4 separate regions of the Homo sapiens genome follow, and all the other regions are linked to region 3. Evidence: promoter capture Hi-C in human tissues and cell types (Jung and others, 2019). All regions are on one chromosome and are shown on one strand. Each heading gives the region's core, a stretch centred on a gene start or on the middle of the fragment in contact. The rest is flanking DNA. Distances are from core to core; before and after follow the strand shown.

Region 1 (3,471 bases), core at 879-3,378, 430 kb before region 3:
GCAAAGGGACTCATCTAATCATCCAGCCCTGTAAGTGCTTTTGCCTGGGAGGTGGGGTTCAAAATGCAGTCCTCATGGGGACATTTCTAAACCTTGGCTCATGTGCTTCTGGTGCCACTACCATTTTTGGCACTATCCTACTTACATGGGAGGTTTTGAGCCATGTAGACAAGGAGGTGATGCAGTTTGTGCTTTGGAGGACTCCTGAGATCTGCCCTTTGGCAACTGTGTTTGAGTAGGAGTCCCTCATTGGAAAATCTGGATGCCAGCAGACAAAAGATATGAGCTTAGGATGGGTCACAAACAAATGGAGGCCACTTTGCCAGCAGCACCTTTGCAACGAAAATTGCTTTCATAGGAAATGTGGAAATGGCTGTGTAGATAGAGATTTGGCCATTTCTCCTTTTCTGTCTTTATACCCTCTTCTCTGCCTGACTTAGGGACCTTAAATTAGAGCAGTTATTAATCATTTGATTTCTCGGCCCCATCACTCATCAAGTATGACAAGAGGGATTCATTAAGATAAAACCCAGAAACAGAAAGGACAAAGAATTCAATTCTCAATGTCTTCAGAGTTGAACTTGACAACTCCTCAGCCTTAACCATCTAGTCAGCACCCCATGACCAACTGAGGTCAAAGAGGGCAACCAGCAGGTAATGTTAGTCAAGTGAGTATCTGGCCAGAGCCCAGCTGCCCTCATAGGAATTAATACTGTGGAGTTTGGGAAAGGGAAATGCATCTGTGAGGGCTCACCCAGGCTGCCCATCTGGGAGAGATCATGGGGAGAGTTCTGAGTGAGGGAGTGAACACCAGATGGAAAGTCAAGCAACAGGTTTCTGTTATGAAGCATCTCACAGTGTAAATACCGGCACTGCCAGTAAACTCACCTTTGGGACTGGAACAAGACTTCAGGTCACGCTCGGTAGGTAACAGAAACCGTGAGGTAACTTAACTGTGTGTTCCTTTAAAACAGGGGATACTGCAGAGGGGATATCCTGGCTGGATGTAGTCCTTCCTTCCTTCCAGTGGGAGGTGATCTCACTGAGGACACATACCTGCATTCAGTCAGTTCTTGTGCTATTTTTATACCTGTTACGGAGGCTTTCCTTTCCACCTGTGAAAACAGAACCTCTCTGCTCCAAGCTTCTTCAGTCTTTATTACCCTATGTATTTCCTTTAGAACAGTGGTTTGGGAATTAATTTATCATCAGGACTTTGTCTCTGATGATATCACTCTGGGCAACAAAATGAAAGGGCTCTCAAATAGAGAACAGAGAGTCCTGAATACTCGGATAACTTTTCCAGAGTGATATGTGTTATGCGTAATGGGATGAAGTGGGCTAGAATGACCTTCCAATGACTATTTTGGAGACACACTAAGGAAACTTGCTTAACATCCTATATCCTTAACTTGTTAGAACATTGGTGAAGTAAAGCAAAATCTTGACCCTCTAAGAACATAAACAAATGCCAACTCCTCTCCCCCAAAGCACTGCCATGTTTCATTATGTGCAATTATGAAACAAATACATGATAATTTATATGAAATTACATAGATGAGTAGTTTGAGTATTTTGACCCATGAGTAAGATGCAAATTGTAGAAGTTCTCAGGTAGTTCTTCATAAAAAGTTGTCCCTGAAGACAAATAGTGTACCTGGGCATAATTTGTTTGCAGTGTTGGTTTATGCACCATTTGGGGACCTGTTTGAAAGCTGATTATGTCCCAGTGTGCCAATTTGGGGTCTCAATTAACTGTGCTCAGTGCACTGATAAGTGCCCATATTTACAGTCTAGAAGCATGACAAAATGACCCCATTTCTGTAGGAAAAGGAGAATGGAACTGTGTGTGGCGTGGTACTTGTCAGTGCTGCTCCCCCTTGTCCCTGCCATGCTGGGAGGTGGCTGCAAGTTTTCCCCAGGAGGTTTTTGTTAGAGCATGTATTACTGTGACAATAACAATGACATGCGCTTTGGAGCAGGGACCAGACTGACAGTAAAACCAAGTAAGTTGGGGGAATGGGTCAATCTTAAAAGCTGACCTGAGTGAGCAATGGTGCTGTTCTGGGCAGTTTCTGTGGGGTTAAGACACTGCCACTCCCAAGAGGATCTAAGTACCTGGTTTCTTTGTGCCTGAGACCCTGAGCTGGTTGGAAGTCTGTTAGTTGATGAATTCTGGCAATCTTAAGGATTAGGTCAAGAAGAAGTAGAAAATTTCACTGGTTTCTTCATTGGCTTGGCTCTGGATATATAAAAATGCTAAATATAAGCCGGGTGCGGTAGCTCACTCCTGTAATCCCAGCACTTTGGGAGGCCGAGGCGGGAAGATCATGAGGTCAAGAGATGCAGACCATCCTGGCCAACATGGTGAAACCCCATCTCTACTAAAAATACAAAAAATTAGCTGGGCATGGTGGCATGCGCCGGTAGTCCCAGCTACTCAGGAGGCTGAGGCAGGAGAATCGCTTGAACCCGGAAGGCGGAGGTTGCCGTGGGCCGAGATCGTGCCACTGCACTCCAGCCTGGCGACAGAGCGAGACTACATCTCAAAAAAAGAAAGAAAAAGAAATATGGCTGAGAAAGTGGCATGGTGCTCCTGGTCCCTAAAGTAGCCCCTGGGACCTCAATGTTGACCTCCTGTGCTGGGTGGGATGTTTCTGCCCAACCTTGCTATTGTGCCTCTGGCACAAGCATTCTGTCAGAACCCAGTGTCCTAGGAACAAAACAGGGGATTTACGATCAAGTTCAGATCTATCTGCACAGCCAGCTGTTAATTTTAGAGAACTGTCCTGACCTTGCAAAGGAACTGGAAACAGAGGCTGCAAGGTGGGGAGACTTCCACTAGAGGGGAAGGTGATCTCACTTGCTCAGCCTTCCCCTCCATCCTTCCCACCTGTTGATTATTGTAAAGCCCCATAGGACTGTGTGAATTATGGAGGAAGCCAAGGAAATCTCATCTTTGGAAAAGGCACTAAACTCTCTGTTAAACCAAGTAAGTGTTGGGGATTCAAAGTCCTGATTTATCATCAGTACTTTGTCACTCTGGGCAACAGAATGAAAGGGCTCTCAAATAGAGAACAGAGAGTCCTGAATACTCAGATAACTTTTCCAGAGTGATATGTGTTATGTGTAATGGGATGAAGTGGGCTAGAATGACCTTCCAATGACTGTTTTGGAGACACACTAAGGAAACTTGCTTAACATCCTATACCCTTAACTTGTTAGAACATTGGTGAAGTGAAAACAAAAGCAGTAAGTGCAACTAAAGTGCAATGCAGAGTGAGTGAGAAGAGACTTACCAACTCCTTTCTCTGTGATATCTTCCCCCCACCTTCACCCTTGAACCCCACAGAATTGTTTCTGTCCATGCCCCTGGCTGTTCCCAGTCCAGACCAGCACGTCGTTCTGCTGGACATAGGAAAACTCCAGACTTCATAACATGTCACAGGGCCCCCTCCCTCAGATGGCAGA
Region 2 (3,318 bases), core at 109-2,608, 450 kb before region 3:
TTATTATCCTCATTTTATAGAAGAGATATATTTATATTTTATATTTCTATAGAAGCACAGAGATGTTGAATAACTTGTTCAAGCCGATGAAGTAAGAAAGAGAACCTGGAGTTTAATTCTTGGCACTCAGATTCCAGAGCTAAAAGCTTTTCAGTGAGGGGATTATGTCTAGAGGGAATGTCCCTGATGCTCTAGTCTCTAAGGTTGCTAAGATAATCGCTAAAGAACTGCGCTCTCAGCAAGTAAAGCCAGGGGTTGGTCAACAGGACCACGGTGACCCAGTTACATATTCTTAATCCTTACAACATCATCAAGCAGTTGCTGTTTTCCCCACTTTACAAGTGAGGAAACTGAGGTGTAGCAAGTTAGGAAACTTGTCCTGAGTTTTAAACTCAAGCCTACCTGCCCCAAAGCCTGAGCTCTTTTAAATTAACTGCAACTGCTGACCAGTTAGATTAACTAATTACTTAATTAATAAGATAACAACCTAACAGGCTGTAAGGTAAAAAAGTAATCAGATTTGTTCTATAGGTCCCCTCCCTTTTCGGGAATAGCTATACAATTGTATAATTTTATGCTTCCCCTGGGAGAGTGGGTGGAGCCCTGGCTCCCAGCCCATGATGGAAGGGTCTTGGCAGTATTTGTAAAGCAGTCTGTGGGGGTGTAACTCAGGGCGGATCTGAAAAGCTGGTCTTTGGAAAGGGAACGAAACTGACAGTAAACCCATGTAAGTCTGAATAATGCTTCCAAATTTCTCCCTGGAACCCTGATTTCCAAATTTTCCATTCTGTTTTATAACCCAGGTCCAAACCACAGCAGTCCCATTAATGGATTCCAGTGCAAAACAACTGCTGGTGTATTCCTACTACACGCAGGTCTCTGTTGTTTGCCCTCATGTGCTATTTTATCTAATAGCTGAGAATGACAGTACCAATGGAGCACTGAGTTAAGGAGTCAGACTGTTCGAAGGCTTCATTCTTCGTTATAATTGGTGAGATTTTCCATGGGACTAAGAGAAAATTGATTAACTCTCTGAGCCTCTATTTTCCTCCTCTGTAGAATGGGGGAGGCAGTTCCTGTTCCCATTTTACCACAGCCGGCGTGCTGTGAGGGGATGTTGGTACATTTCCAATAAGGGGACAATGAGTGTGAAGAGAAAGGAAGGCCCCAGGTGGTCCGTAAACTCTTCCACCAGTCCCACACTATAAACAGCTGGTTTTATCAGGGGGATTCTTGGATGACAAGTAAGCACTTAAGTAAATATCAAGGGGAGTCTGGGCAACTGAGTTTTTGTAGATCCTCGTGTCATTGTGTTATACTGGAGCCAATAGTAAGCTGACATTTGGAAAAGGAATAACTCTGAGTGTTAGACCAGGTATGTTTTAATGAATGTTATTTGTTTCCAAACATAAGCCACCATCCTTAGAAATTCAGTGAAAGATAACCGAATCTCCTGCCCAGTTATTAGCATCTTTCACCATGGGTCTTTCTGGAGAAAATGACAATGTGGGCAGCCCCTGACTGCAGCCCCTTTGGGACTGTTTCTTTAACACCTTTAAGTACTTGGGAATGTTCAGTGTGTTTTTGTTAATGTTGGAGATATGTGTCTGACAAATGGAATCTGAATTGAAGTTTTAGTGTGTAGGGGCAGAAAGCATTTAGAAAGGACAAAAGAAGGACAGATTAGACTAAAATACATACCAATGGCTGGGAGTATGCAATGCAACCCAATCCAAAAGGAAACAGTGAGATGTAGCCTGCTGATTAAACAACTGAGCCAGCACTCCGTGTCAGCTGACTTGTCTTCCCAAAGCTTCCATGTTGGTGCAATTAGGAAAAGAATTGTCTAATCCCCATAACTCAAAATCTTGGAGCCAAGCTAAATTGGGTAAAGCCGTGTAAGATTTTCTGGTACTGACACTGACTACAAGCTGATATTTAGGGAAAAGTTAAGATTGAAAGCAAATATTCAAATTAGTCAGAAAGACCACGAACTTCTGAAAACAAGCCCCAGGGTGCTGTTAACTGCTGCATTTCTAATTGGGTCCTCATGGAACATTTTCATCTCTGCCTTGTCTGAGCTTTCTGCACCAGAGAAGCCCCTTTTGATACCCACTCACTTCTGAGTCCCTCATTGAAAAGGTGGCAACTAAGCTTAGAGAAGGATTCCCTAATCCAAATGCAATACTTGGGGGAATATTTTGAGTATTGCTCCACCATTCTCAAAACAAACCTAATTTCAGTTAACTTGAATGTAGCTGAAATTTTGTTCCATGAGGGAATCTCTGCTTTCTATGATAATGCAAGCTCATTTCAAACAATTGTTTGGGATTTAACTTTTGCTCATAATTCCCAAAAGATACCAACTATTCAATGAGTATCTTAAAATAAAACTACTTTTATGACCAAATTATTATCCCCATTAGAATGGCTAGAATCAGAATGTCCTAGTATGTATTATGTGAACCCCATGCGACCTTCCTAAAGTTTCTTATGCCTAAAACAGCATAAGAGAGAAAAGCATTTCCACGCTAACCTGTGTGTTCACTGGTTAACAAAGGTCTAAAGAGCAGGTGAGTCAGCTGCTCCATTTCCAAACTGGACTGGACATTTACAGTCCTGCAGATACTAAAAATGATAATCAGGAAAAGCACACACAATTCTACTTTTTCTTATAATTCCCATCTTTCCCAAAGAACTGTTATAAATTCTCTCCCAAAGGTGTTATATTCATCCTTCTTTTGTTGCCTCTATTTGTGATGTGTACTGAGGTGAAATATTTGTTGAGATTCAAAAACCCCATGAGATTTAACTTAAGCTTTCCCTGTCAGAGAGATTCTAAGAGCTAAAAGATGGGAAGCTGGTATTTGGGAACTAGATTAAAAAGAAAATCCAAATTAATCCCAAGGAGCAAGGCTCAATAGATAGTTATTTAGACATAACATGTCCACCCTGCAAGCCTAGTTGCTCAGTTGACTGGGCTGCCCCTATCTTAGTCTTGCCTGGAAGAGAAATAAGTTGTTTGCCCCATACCTGTCTTGAGAAATGTCAGCCTCCAGACCTGAAAGCTTCTTGTGATTTGGTTTATTTCTGTAGAGTTTATTATTATACACAGTGTTCTTGAAGTAATAGAGAAGTGCATTAGAAGCTCCTGCAAATGGAAATGAAATGTAAATTTAGATTGTAAATACATGACTGCGGTAAATAGATAGCAAGAAAAAGGATGAAGAGATTAGAAATTTGCCACATTTCTCTAACCCTAAAGGGATGTTTCTATAAATAGTTTAAAACTGTTGAAGACGAAGGGGGAGGAGGAAG
Region 3 (3,162 bases), core at 524-3,023:
GCAGCAGGAAAGCTGGAAGACCCAAATATGCACCAAAATTCAGCTCCTGTAACATGGCCTGGAACGGAGATGAAGAGGAAAAGTTTGAGCTAACAAGCAAACAGCTTTTTTTTTTTTTTTTTTGAGACAAAGTCTCACTCTGTCACCCAGGCTGGAGTGCAGTGGCACAGTCTCCACTCACTGCAGCCTTGACCTTCCCAAGCTCAACTGATCCTCCCTCCTCAGCCTCCTGAGTAGCTGGGACCACAGGCATGCACCACCATGCCTGGCTAATTTTTGTATATTTTATAGAGATGGGGTTTCACTACGCTGCCCAGGCTGGTCTCGAAATCCCGAGCTCCAGTGATCCTACAGCCTCAGCCTCCCAAAGTGCTAGGATTATAGGTGTGCACCACAGCACCCAGCCTAATAGCTTTAATTTCATTCTATCAGTTAATTTACCAAGTTATTGGGGATGGGAGGGGACCACTCTCCCCACCCAGCTTGGTTAGAAAAATCCAGCAGAGAAGTCAAACAGTCTTACCGCCTCGGAGTTCCTGCGAATCTTCTCCACTTTTGAGTCTGGACGAATCCATGGAGAAAGCTTTCCCACAATTAGCGTATTCCAGTCTGCACTCCCCCACCCAAGAAAGACAAATACTGAATAAGGTTCAGCACTTTACTTGTTCAATTTTTAGTTTTGGGAATCAAGAGTAGAAATGAGAGACAAAGGTTTTTTCTACATAGACATGGGATAGCCTGATGCAGAATAGAGAAGCAAGGAGAAAACAAGTTATCTATATCCCAGGGACTAACAAATATATCCAAGTCAGAAAAGGAGGAGAATGAGGGCCCCGATAAAGCAGAAGTTGTTATTGCCTCTAATAATTAAGGGGCATATGGGATGGTCCCTACCCCTTCCTGACAGCAGTAGGTCTGATCGTGTCTGGGGACCGGGCCGATTCTTAGCAGGTTCCTGAATGAACTCCCTCTTGAAACGCGGATGGAAGACAGGCATGCAGAGGAAATCAAACCTACAACCGCGACAGACCCAGAATCATGTAAAGACAGCAGCAGTGCCAGAGAGCCAAGCAACTGGATTTAGGCTATCTTGATTTTGCACAGCCCTTTCAGCTGCCATCAGTTCAGCCTACTAGGCTGCTGAGTTCAGACCACCTTGGGGGATATCAACTCTGCTGTACTGTGCCTCAATTTCTCCCTAAAACACAGCCATGGGACATATGAGTAAGGAGAAAATGATGGATATCCACAAGTAGAATTTTTTTCTCCTCAGGTGTCAGTATGTTTCCAAGACCATCACATCCAGATTTGCCCCAGTTCTGCCCATGCCTCCCCCGTCAAAATTAGCCTCTTCTCTCCCTTGCCCCCTAACACCTCCTCCCACTCCCAGACAATAATCGCGACCTCCAGGGCCCTTTAGAGTTTACCCAACAACTCTCCCAACTTTGGGACTCAGTGACCACAGGCCTCCCACAAGTTATTTTCCTCACGTTACTGGGTCCGAGGCTCCTCCCCTCCAAAGAGTAATAGTCTCTCCCCTCCTCATCCTAGCCGACCCCCTCACCCCTGCTTCTCCGGGATGACTAGTCTGCCCTTCTCCGTCCCCGAGTTCGGACCCCGCATTCCGCTCGTGGAGGTCCGGCCCTCACCCCTGCTTGGCCACAGCCCCTAGTGTGTCAGCTATTTCGGGGACGCAATTCAGGTCCCTCCCGCTGGACACGCGGCTCCCACCAGCACCCCCGACCGCCATCGCCGCCATCTTTCTCCTCGCGCTGTCCACGCCGGGATTCCTTGATACTAGTAGCCAATCACAAAGTCAAACTAGTGCCCCAGAAGGCGGGACGAGTCGCCTTAACAACCAGAGCGTCTGCCACAGCTCCCGAACAGGAGGGATGGGGAGTGGCTTTTCCTGCCAATCCGCGGGCTGCACAGTGGCGTACGGCATGGATCCACCAATCTCAGGGTCTGGTTCCTGACGAACTTCAATCTCCCAGAATGCTTAGTCTATCTGAAGAACGCCGTTGAGAGACTACACCGCCCATGAAACCCTGCAGTATAACCTTGAAGTACCATCACGGAGAGAAACAGTGCCATCTCAGGGCCAGTGGCGCAATGGATAACGCGTCTGACTACGGATCAGAAGATTCCAGGTTCGACTCCTGGCTGGCTCGGTGGGGTTCCTCGCAGCTTCGCTGCGTGAGCATTTTGTAATTTTCCTTTCCTTTCGCAGCTTGATGCTTCTTTATTATCTTCACGCTTTCATTATCAGATCCTGAGTCGGTTGGGTTATGCAGCCATGTAATGTCAGCTTTTCCCGTAACTACCCTCAAAAGTGTTTTTCTTGTGTCATTATTTACGTCCATATGAACACTGAGAAAACTGGGTTAATGGCTGGTGCTATTAAAATGAGCTTTGTCACCTTACTATGTTACATATTAAAATAAACTGCTAACTCAGCTACTACTTCCTAGTGATTCTAGGAAGTAGTGTTTTGTGTTTCAAACACAAAAGGTGTAAATAAACGCCTAAACACACACACACACCTCAAGATAGAGAAAAGGAATTCATTAATTACAGTGGGCAGCAGTCATGAAATTGGCTGGCATGGAGGCCAGAGAGAATCTACATTTTCTCATGTCATTAGCTGCTAGAGATGGAAAGGAAGGAAGCAAGGAAAGACATAGGGAGGTAAATGGGAACTCCAGAAGGCAGGGGGCCCACTGGTGTTGAGGGCTCGGCAGCAAGGATGGAGAGGAGAACACGGTACAAGAGACCCCACGCAGGCGCCGCTGGCAGAACTTAGGGACCGACTGGCAAGGAGTCCTGAGAAAGCAAAGTAGGGGGTGATGCCTAGGATTCTGTCCATGCAGTGAGCAAGAAATGCGGAAAGAGGGTTTGGGAAATCAGGGTTTGGGTTTGGTCATGCTGAATTGAACGTCTAGGGGGCGCTGTGTAATAGAAAGTTGGATGGAGGTCGCTAGAAGAAAAGAACTGAGGCCATGCGACTGAGATCACCATAGCTCGTTGGGGACAGAGCCATAGGAAATACGAAAAGGGTGTGGGGTAGGATAAGTTCTGGGGAACCCTGGGTGCAATGCAAGTGCCCCAAAAGAATGAAAGCCGGAAAACCGGCCGGGCGCGGTGGCTCACGCCTGTAATCCC
Region 4 (2,544 bases), core at 1-2,500, 330 kb before region 3:
CACTCCCTCCAACTGGCTGGACCACAGTTCTGTCCATCCATCAAGCCCCAAGCACACACAGGTTCAAGAGCAATAGATGCAAGAGCTCTGTGGGGTTGGTGGTGTCACTACCACCTGGGGCTAAAGGGAGCTGGGCACGCTGTTTCAAGGGATAAGACGGTCCCGCTTATTATGTACAGACTACATGGTCTGTAAATGTGATTGGAGTTGAATTCTTTAGAGTGTGTAGTGTTAAAGAAAAAGTGATTCTGACAGATTAAATCGGTAAAGATCATTCAAAACTACTGCAATAGGGGAGAGAGATCAGGCTCAACTCTTGAATACATTAAGGACTAGTGGGGATTTATAACCAAGCAGCATGGTGAGGGGGGTCAGTGGATAGAAAATTGCTGAGGAGATATCAAAGATAAAGGGAGATATCAAAGATAAAGGGAGTTCTTTTCAAACCAGTTTAACAGGATCATTGCTGAAGGAAGGTCAAAGGTGAGGGATGAGGAACTTGATCAAATATGAAGGAATTCTTACTAACTGATGTATGACTTACTCATCCTGACTTTGCAGGATTCTTGCTAAGACTGAGCTAGACATTTGGAAGACAGGCCAGGGGCCAAGGTCAAAGCCTAGTCAAGAAGAGGGCTCAGAAGGGCTTGCCTAAAGTTTGGTTAAGGAGAGAGTTGTTTTCAGTGGTCAGAGGGTTGTGAGAGGAAGGAGCTGAGGGAAGTTGGGGAGGGTTCGGGAATGGAGAGAATGTGAAGAGTGGTAGTCCAGGCAAAATGATGATGCCGTCAGGAAACACTTATTGACTTACCATGGGATTCTTTCCTCCCCAGGTCTCCAGAATAAGTTCCTGGCCAGATATGTATCCCTCCCAAACCAGAATAAGATCTGGACGGTGACTGTGAGCCCCGAGCAAAACGACCGCACCCCCTTGGTGATGGTGCATGGTTTTGGGGGCGGCGTGGGTCTCTGGATCCTCAACATGGACTCACTGAGTGCCCGCCGCACACTGCACACCTTCGATCTGCTTGGCTTCGGGCGAAGCTCAAGGCCAGCATTCCCAAGGGACCCGGAGGGGGCTGAGGATGAGTTTGTGACATCGATAGAGACATGGCGGGAGACCATGGGGATCCCCAGCATGATCCTCCTGGGGCACAGTTTGGGAGGATTCCTGGCCACTTCTTACTCAATCAAGTACCCTGATAGGTAATAAGGAGATGGCTCCATCCCTCGTGACCTAATTCCTGGCCTTACTGGGAACTTTCCAGTATTCATTTCCAAACTTCTCTCATTCCCAGGCGATTTAAGGGGCTATGGCAACTACCAGAGAATATAATGTGTCTTCTCCTCTTTCCGCCTTTAACATAGAGTTAAACACCTCATCCTGGTGGACCCATGGGGCTTTCCCCTCCGACCAACTAACCCCAGTGAGATCCGTGCACCCCCAGCCTGGGTCAAAGCCGTGGCATCTGTCCTAGGACGTTCCAATCCATTGGCTGTTCTTCGAGTAGCTGGGCCCTGGGGTGAGTAGCCTGTAGTATCTCCTTAAAGGAAGGCTATAACGTTCTAGAAGGCCCACAGTGTCTTTCCCACTTATTCCTAAAAAGTGGAAATTGGCCTAGCCTTGTTATTTAAAGCTGTTAATCTGAACCAGATCACTTTGTTCAAGGTTTGAGAAGGTTTTTTGTTTTTTTGTTTTGTTTTGTTTTTTTGAGACAAAGTCTCGCTCTGTCACCCAGGCTGGAGTGCAGTGGTGCGATCTCGGCTCACTGCAAGCTCCGCCTCCCAGGTTCATGCCATTCTCCTGCCTCAGCCTCCCAAGTAACTGGGACTACAGGCACCTGCCACCATGCCCGGCTAATTTTTTGTGTTTTTAGTAGAGACGGGGTTTCATCGTGTTAACCAGGCTGGTCTCGATCTGACCTCGTGATCCGCCTGCCTCGGCCTCCCGAAGTGCTGGGATTACAGGCGTGAGCCACCGCGCCTGGCCTGTTTTTTGTTTTTTGTATTTTTTCTCTTCATCGGCATGGGAAAAGCTTTTCCTATGCCAGGAACAGGTGGAGCAGAATAGCTACCAGAGTCTCACTCTATCTCCCAGGCTGATGTGCAGTGGTGTGATCTCAGCTCACTGCAACCTCCGCCTCCTGGGTTCAAGCCATTCCCCTGCCTGAGCCTCCTGAGTAGCTGGGACTGCAGGTGTACCCCACCACACCTGGCTAATTTTTGTGTTTTCAGTAGAGACGGGGTTTCACCATGTTGGCTAGGCTGGTCTTGAACTCCTAGCCTCTAGTGATCCATCCGCATCAGCCTCCCAAAGTGCTGGGATTACAGGCATGAGCCACCACACCCAATCTGTGTGAAATTTTATGAAAACCTGCTGGTGATTCATGCCCAGTAACCACTGGATCCCATCCCTGTGGTTCACCCAACACCTGCAGCAGGGAGAGGTCAGAACCAAAGCCTCCAACATAACCCACAGTGGCAGGCAAGCCCCTCTGAACCATGCACTTGTCCAGGCAAGCACCACATCTTCACCTGCTCTGTGTC

What was found. The method cuts DNA at HindIII sites, captures the fragments that hold promoters and counts their contacts. A contact is called where the count stands out against the background at its distance.
Region 1: a contact is called between a fragment that was not itself captured here and the fragment with the promoter of PRMT5 in region 3, in 1 of the 25 tissues and cell types used here (heart right ventricle).
Region 2: a fragment that was not itself captured here is called in contact with the fragment with the promoter of PRMT5 in region 3 in 1 of the 25 tissues and cell types used here (thymus).
Region 4: a fragment that was not itself captured here is called in contact with the fragment with the promoter of PRMT5 in region 3 in 1 of the 25 tissues and cell types used here (mesendoderm cells).

The regions. Positions count from the first base shown.
Region 1 is chr14:22,493,961-22,497,431 of GRCh38, forward strand. It overlaps TRA, TRAJ45, TRAJ44, TRAJ43 and TRAJ42. Among named protein-coding and RNA genes, the nearest start is that of TRD-AS1, 13 kb to the left of the region's middle. RefSeq lists enhancers at 1-10, 41-100. The HindIII fragment of the contact is 3,317 bases long and covers 471-3,471 here.
Region 2 is chr14:22,478,208-22,481,525 of GRCh38, forward strand. TRD-AS1 (TRD antisense RNA 1) reads right to left here. Exons shown (of 5, transcript NR_148361.1): 2 at 3,034-3,151. It also overlaps TRA, TRAJ57 and TRAJ56. Among named protein-coding and RNA genes, the nearest start is that of TRD-AS1, 3.1 kb to the right of the region's middle. The HindIII fragment of the contact is 3,170 bases long and covers 1-2,943 here.
Region 3 is chr14:22,927,603-22,930,764 of GRCh38, forward strand. PRMT5 (protein arginine methyltransferase 5) reads right to left here and starts at 1,774. Exons shown (of 17, transcript NM_006109.5): 1 at 1,650-1,774; 2 at 895-1,013; 3 at 524-609; 4 at 1-58. The coding sequence starts at 1,759. It overlaps PRMT5-DT (PRMT5 divergent transcript), which reads left to right and starts at 2,007. Exons shown (of 3, transcript NR_110002.1): 1 at 2,007-2,150. It overlaps TRR-ACG1-3 (tRNA-Arg (anticodon ACG) 1-3), which reads left to right and starts at 2,099; the gene lies at 2,099-2,171. RefSeq lists an enhancer at 1,618-1,727 and a silencer at 2,138-2,227. The HindIII fragment of the contact is 24,447 bases long and covers 1-3,162 here.
Region 4 is chr14:22,602,560-22,605,103 of GRCh38, forward strand. ABHD4 (abhydrolase domain containing 4, N-acyl phospholipase B) reads left to right here. Exons shown (of 7, transcript NM_022060.3): 3 at 831-1,203; 4 at 1,366-1,520. Among named protein-coding and RNA genes, the nearest start is that of ABHD4, 5.5 kb to the left of the region's middle. The HindIII fragment of the contact is 4,371 bases long and covers 1-2,544 here.